Linked DNA regions of Homo sapiens: region 1 is linked to region 2. The links are contacts of gene promoters, found by promoter capture Hi-C in blood cells and fetal thymus (Javierre and others, 2016). All regions are on one chromosome and are shown on one strand. The core of a region is centred on a gene start or on the middle of the fragment in contact, and the rest is flanking DNA. Distances in the headings are between cores, read along the strand shown. Region 1 has its middle 5.8 kb from the start of AP3M2. Region 2 holds the start of DKK4 (dickkopf Wnt signaling pathway inhibitor 4).

What was found. Contacts are between HindIII fragments. The CHiCAGO score rates a contact against its expected background, and 5 or more counts as called.
Region 1: a fragment that was not itself captured here is called in contact with the fragment with the promoter of DKK4 in region 2 in 2 of 17 cell types (megakaryocytes and endothelial precursors); the score reaches 5.7 in megakaryocytes.

The regions. Positions count from the first base shown.
Region 1 is chr8:42,145,429-42,149,060 of GRCh38, reverse strand. No RefSeq gene overlaps it. Among named protein-coding and RNA genes, the nearest start is that of AP3M2, 5.8 kb to the left of the region's middle. The HindIII fragment of the contact is 901 bases long and covers 1,132-2,032 here.
Region 2 is chr8:42,375,449-42,379,051 of GRCh38, reverse strand. It overlaps DKK4 (dickkopf Wnt signaling pathway inhibitor 4), which reads left to right and starts at 1,823. Exons shown (of 4, transcript NM_014420.3): 1 at 1,823-2,117; 2 at 3,222-3,372. The coding sequence starts at 2,007. The HindIII fragment of the contact is 5,398 bases long and covers 1,119-3,603 here.

The DNA of each region.
Region 1 (3,632 bases), core at 333-2,832, 230 kb after region 2:
CCCAACTACTCTAAAATGAATTACCGTTGTGATCCCCTTTTCGTAGATGAGGAAGCTGCAAAGACAGCTTAAATAACTGCCCAAGGTCGAACAGCAAAGCTGTGATTCAAGGACGTTGGAAGATCTGAGCAGAATGGCTCAGATTCCACACTTCCTACCTCTAAGCCCAGGAACCCATTGAAGAAATGTGAAGCAGGAGAGTGGCACACTTTCAGATTTCCATTTCAGAAAGACTATGTGTGCAGGATGGACTGTAACAGGCTGAGCCTGGAGGCTGGGAGGTTATTTAGACAATTGCAGTAATCCCTAGGAGAGAGCTAGTGCCTGGAGCCATGAGGCAGGGATTAGAGAGAAGTGGACACCTTCCAGAGAAGATAGGGATTAGGGATTAATGGAATGTCAGTGGTGAGGCAGAGTAGGTTTCTGATTCGGGCAATGACATGGATGGAAGCATCATGTGTTGAGATGGGGATCACTGGAAGAGAGGCCCCTTGCGGGGAGGGCGCATGAATCCAGTATATAGCAATGCCTGGGGGCATGAACCAAGTTGACACTCAAGTGTTTGTTGAATTGAATCAAGTAACATAGAATCTGAGAGCTCATGTAATACTTTCCCATGACTTTAAGAGAGGCCACAGGAAATCATTGACAAATGATAAGTCAGTCTATTTTGTGCATAAAAATCTCTAGGGAAAGATTTCCTAAAGCTGCCACTCACAAACCATTCTAATGTTTAACAGCTCTCACTGCTGAGAAATTTTTCTACCATAAAAAGTTAATCCTAGCTATCAGGATTCACTGGGAACCATTTATTTATTTATTTATTTATATTTCATTTTTGGTCTGAGACAAGAGAGGCCTTGCCCACCCAGAAAGACATTTTTTTCAGAGCTGCAACATCATTTCTGCGTCTTTGCCACTTCCTCCCTGTTCACACGTATGCTCTCCTTGCAACACACCTCACTACCGGTCATGCACTGAAGCAATGGAATGCCTTCTCCTCATGCCTCCCTTCTCACGGAGCCCTCTACCTGGCACATGTTTGTCTTTTACTCATCCTATTTTGGAAATTCGCTCCAGCCCGCAAGGCCCAGCCATATGTTTCCTCCTCCACAAAGTCTGTTTGAAGCTTCTTGCCCCCACACTGGGAGTAATGTTTCCCTCCTCTGTGATCAAAGAGCATTTCCCAGCTCTTTCATGTAACCTACAGAGCGGGCACACTCTGCCATGCATCAACATGTGCATCTGCTGACCAAATCTGGATTCTAAGCTCTTTGGGAAACCACAGTGTGTCTCACAATGTCTAGTGAACAATCACCTATTAAACTAACAGTGATGGAGTGCTTACAACCTCCTGGACACTGCGGGTACAAAGATGCGGTACTCTATGTTACTTCAAGGAACATACAGTCAAGTGGAGGGGGGATTTAAAGTGTAGACTGCTCCCCTTATCAAAACCAGGCCGGGCGCCGTGGCTCACACCTGTAATCCCAGCACTTTGGGAGGCCAAGGCGGGTGGATCACCTGAAGTCAAGAGTTCGAGACCAGCCTGGCCAACATGGTGAAACCTTGTCTCTACTAAAAATAGAAAAAAAAAAAATTAGCCCAGTGTGGTGGCATGCACCTATAGTCCCAGCTACTCGGGGAGGCTGAGGCAGGAGAATCACTTGAACCCAGGAGGCAGAAGTTGCAGTGAGCCAAGATCACGCCACTGCACTCCAGCCTGGGCCACAGAGGGAGACTCCATCTCAAAAAAAAAAAAAAAAAAAAACCAGCTCCTTTAAGCCTGGCCATGAAAGGAGCCTGTCCATGTGGAGAGGAGAGACTGAACCTGACGCCCTACTCTAGAAAAAGAGATCCGCTTTCCCCTTAGGGACCTCTCACTGCTGGCTGCAGCTCCCACCACCATACTGGTTTTGGGAGGGTCAGTATCCCTTTAACTCTTCAATGGCATTTAAGACACACTATTTTTTGTTGTTTGTTTAATTTCCTATAGCAGAGCAGAGACCAGGATGGACATTTATCCAAAGCTTGTCTAAAGACTTGAAGATAGGCCGAGCACAGTGGCTCACGCCTGTAATCCCAACATTTTGGGAGACAGAGGTGGGCGGATCACTTGAGGTCAGGAGTTCGAGACCAGCCTGGCCAACCCATTTCTACTAAAAATACAAAAATTAGCTGGGCATGGTGGCGGCCACCTGTAATCCCAGCTACTCGGGAGGCCGAGGCATGAGAATGGCTTGAACCTGGAAGGCAGAGTTTGCAGTGAGCCAAGATCGTGCCATTGCACTCCAGCCTGGGTGATAGAACGAGACTCAGTCTCAAAAAAAAAAAAAAAAAAGACTTGAAGATAACAGAAAGGAAGTGAGCAGAAAGAGTAACATGCAACTAAAAATGTAGCTCACAAATGTGATCCAATCCGGGCATCTTAGATGTCTCTATGGGATGCACACCTGCTTCCAGGGGACAGGGATGCTGTGTACCTCCTCTCACCTAGGAGCCCCGGCAAGCCATCTGGAGTTCCTGAAATCCAAACCTTGTCTGACAAGGAGACAGCAGCCTCCCTCTCCTGGTGGCCTCAGGCTGGCCTCCTGGTTCCAGTCTCCTGAGGGACATAATTATTGCACCAAATGGTCCCTTCCCCAGATGATTAGCCACAAGAATATCCAATCATGAGGCCACACCCTCACCTCAGGGGCATGGCATTATTCTGTGGCTTGTTAGTAGACGCTCCGCGGTTCTTTCTCTGCACTCTCCCTAGATGGCTTCATGAGTGTAATACCCTTTTAATGATGACAGCTCTCGATGTATCTCCAACCTCAACTGTTTTCCCCAGCTTAGTAAACAATACCACCATCCATCCAGCTACTCAAACCCATGAGTCATCCTCAAGTCCTCCATTACCCTCATCCCCTCATGTAATCAGAAGCATACCCTGTGGATTCTATCTTCAATGTACATCAGGAATTCAGAATCTCTCCAATGCAATGTCATCACTTTAGTCCAGGCCACAATCACCACTTCCCTGAAAGATGATAACCGCTGCCATACTGGTCTCCCATTTCTACTCTCACCCCTCCAATCCATTTTCTATACAGCAGCAAAAGTGAGCTTTTAAAACTGTAAACAGTTATGTGCAGCTTGGAACCCATCAATGCATTCCCATGGCATTAAATCAAAAATGCCTTTACTACTTCTTTTTTTTCCCCGCTTAGAGTCAGGGTCTCACTGTGTTGCCCAGGCTGGAGTGCAGTGATGTGATCATAACTCATTGCAGCCTTGAACTCCTGGACTCAAGCAATACTCCCGCTTCAGCCTCCTGAGTAAATGGGACTACAGGCATGCCACCACACCTGACTACCTTTAACACTTATCTGTCCTCTCGATCTCTCCAGTTGAATCTCTTGCCACACCCCTCCACCACTCACCCCCACTCTCAGCTCTGGGCCTAGAATATGCTCTTTCCTCTGTTTGGAAGCTCCTGTTCTTCCTTTAAGTCTTCCTTTATGGTACCTTCTCAGGGAGTCTTCCATTAAGCACCTTGTCTAAATCTACCCCCCATCTTTGTCTTCCTCTACCACCCTAAGTATTCTGTCTCTATTCTTTATAATACCCATCGAAGCTTGTAATTA
Region 2 (3,603 bases), core at 574-3,073:
CTCGAACTCCTGACCTCAGGTGATCCATCCACCTCAGCCTCCCAAAGTGGTGAGATTACAGGCGTCAGCCACCGCACGCGGCCTACTTTTTTTTTTTTTTTTTTTTTTGTGGAGACAGGATCTCAATATGTTGCCCAGGCTCGTCTTGAACTCCTGAGCTCAGGAGATCTTCCCACCTTGGCCTCCCAAAGTGCTGGGATTACAGGTGTGAGCCACTGTGCCCGGCCATTGGAGTTTCAAATTTTATTCCTAACATGTAATCCGAGGCTCTGTTCCATGCCAAGTGCTCTAAGTGCTCAGTGGCTGTTTGTGCCGTGTTACAGGAGTTCCCGTCAGTTCTTTCGCCTGTGTATATTGCCAGGGGCCTTTGGTAACCTGAAATTCCCTTACAGTGAGGCAGCAGGAAGCAGAGAAACCCGGCAGAGACAGAACCCTGGGGGCTCTTTCCTTTATCCTTGGTCATAATTGTACAACTTGAAAATAAATTCTGTAACACCCCTAGTCACCAGGGTTATCATGCTATCAAAGGGTGTTGTTTGATGTCAGTTTAAGGGATTAAAACAAGTAACTTCCATACGAGAGGTAGACAAGCAATACCAACCCAAGGACAAGGGCCAAGTAGTAGGAAGGCTCGAATCACCTGCATCACCCTCGGAATGGCACTGCATTACTCAAAATTGAGAATGTTCCCATGCACAGAATGCTGAGATTCATGTCAATGAATTGATGTTAGGTTGTTCTGCAGGAAAATGTAGTAAATAATAAGATTATCATTTATGGCATAGAAAAAATGCATTTTAGATGACTCTATGCTAAGAGCAATGAAACAATGAAGAGAAAAAATGATTTTTTGATCCAGATCTAGATTGTTCTACCCTTAAAGTATTTAAGACAGTGATAAGCACATGTCTAAATTACCTGACTAATAGTCCAAATGGAAAAAAATCAGACAGGAAAGGGATGAAGCAGAAGTTTTAAAAAATTCGTATTAGGAAAATTGGAAATACATGAAATTTCATCTGAAATCAGCCAGAGACTTGGATCCTTGTTCTGCTTAAGTGAGTTTTACATAATGCAACACAAATTAAATATGTTGCTGATAAAATGGACCCAAAGCTTCGTACTGAATTGTGTAAAATGCGCTATCATTGTTCCCACCATTGAAAAATGGGATTTTCATAAATTACATTATTTTCCTAATAACCCTAACTTCAAACAGTTCAATTTTCATTTAAAGGAAAGTAATTTCCCAAATGGCATTTAGTCAGAACAGGTGCTGTTACGTTCACAACTTTTAAGCGGTTGGGATTTTGACATCTGGATGCCAGAGCTAATCAGGGGGCGTTTTCTCTTTTTCTATCTGTCCTCACTATCTGAAGCCCAGTTTACAGCTTCTCAGTGTATTTTGTACCTCATTAGTTTTTGGCATCCTCTATAGCATATTGGCCAGTATGATTCATCCTTTCTTTGAGCACAATTAGCTGTGAAAACAGATCTTAGGGCAGACTCCCTCCCTACCCCCAAAGGATTACTGAAGGTAGGAAATGCAGGTGATTATCAGAGTTTGCCTTTGATACAGACATCCTGCTCTGCCGTGGCCCTTTGAACTAACTTTGATATGCAATAATTAAGAGGGATTGAACCCCTGGAGGAGAAGCCGCATGGCCCTGCCTCTTCTCTCCTTCTATTGAGTCCTTGTTTTGAACTATTGATCAAACAGATTTGAAGGGATTTGTTGAAGCCTGTGTGGGGCAGGAGGAAGGAACGGAGCGGGGAGGAGGCACATCTGGTTATAAATAGTTTCAGGAGGAACCTGCTGGTCAGACTTTGCTCAGCCGATTTCACGCACCTTACTCAGACTAAGGTTTACTTCTTTCAGAAAAAGCAGTGACAAACAGACGACGTGCTGAGCTGCCAGCTTAGTGGAAGCTCTGCTCTGGGTGGAGAGCAGCCTCGCTTTGGTGACGCACAGTGCTGGGACCCTCCAGGAGCCCCGGGATTGAAGGATGGTGGCGGCCGTCCTGCTGGGGCTGAGCTGGCTCTGCTCTCCCCTGGGAGCTCTGGTCCTGGACTTCAACAACATCAGGAGCTCTGCTGACCTGCATGGGGCCCGGAAGGTAAGGCTGCTAGGGAGGGGGGCGAGGTACGGGACTGCTGACAGCTGGGGTGTTTTGTTTAGGCTTTAGTAAGTCATTCTGATTCATGTATGAAATGTCTTACCTAGCAGGTAAATTGAATTGGTTTCGGATTTGGGAGGGCATCCTGGTAGGATCAGTGGCCTTAGTGTGAATGTATGAAATAAACACAGTGGCTTTTCACATCATTCGGCCATACGTTTGTCTATAAATCACGAAATAAACGAACACTTTGGAAGCTCTACTATGTGCCAGCTCTTTTACATGTAATACGTCATGTACTCTTCCTCACAATTTGAGATAGGTGAAACATTCCCTAATTCCAGATGAGGAAATAAGACTCAGAGATGTTGAAGAGCTTACCCAAGCTCACACAGCCAGCAAGCAAACATGGGAATGAGAATTTAAACAGAGGGCCATGATGCATTGCCTTGTCACCATCTAACTTCACAGAGAGAGTTGTTTTAGGAATCGCTTTATGTATGTGTATATGTTATTATATATCGTATAGATTATTACATATATCATATATGCTACACCTACGTTGTATGTCTATGTAGAAGCATCAACTGTGTATGAGAACAATTGATCTTCGGTATCTCTTTCTCTATGTCAATGAGGCATCATTGAAAATCAAAGGACAGTTCACTTAGGGAAGGGTCTCTAAGCTAAATGTGATTCACTAGAGTAAAAAATCAAATAGGAATGCCACAAACATCAATAGTATGTTTAATGAAACTGTAGCCAGCTTCTAGAGTTAAGATATATTGAAAATCTCATACTCACCTGTTAAGACACACATAGGAAAACATTTTTTCCCATTTTCACAAAGAGCACAGGAAAACTAAATTCTGAGTTAAGTCAATTTTTCAAACTCAAATAGCCTTTGCAGCGCCTAGGTCTCCCCGGGTGACATGAGCTTCCCTTTGTGGGAGAAAACCATTTCCACTGGAGAGTAAGATGCTGCCCAGGGTTTGTCACAGCGCCACTGTCCTTTGGCTCCCTCCGCCTCCTGCCTTCAATAATAAGTCATCTTCCATCGTGTTGGGGGTTTCCTAGCCTTGTGATAACAGATTCCCTCCACAGGGCTCACAGTGCCTGTCTGACACGGACTGCAATACCAGAAAGTTCTGCCTCCAGCCCCGCGATGAGAAGCCGTTCTGTGCTACATGTCGTGGGTTGCGGAGGAGGTGCCAGCGAGATGCCATGTGCTGCCCTGGGACACTCTGTGTGAACGGTGAGCGACATAACGCCAACAGTGGTTTTTAAACCGAAGGTAGTGTCTAAGCCCCATAGACTAGAATATTCCAGGGTAGGCACTCTCTAATGGTGCTTCCTAGATTCATGCTTGAAGTAAATGTATGCAGCTGCCTTTTCTTTTCCTTTTTTTTTTTTTTCTGAGGCGGAGTTTCGCCCTTGTTGTCCACAGCTCACTGCAGCCTCGGCCTCCGGGTTCAGGTGGTTCTCC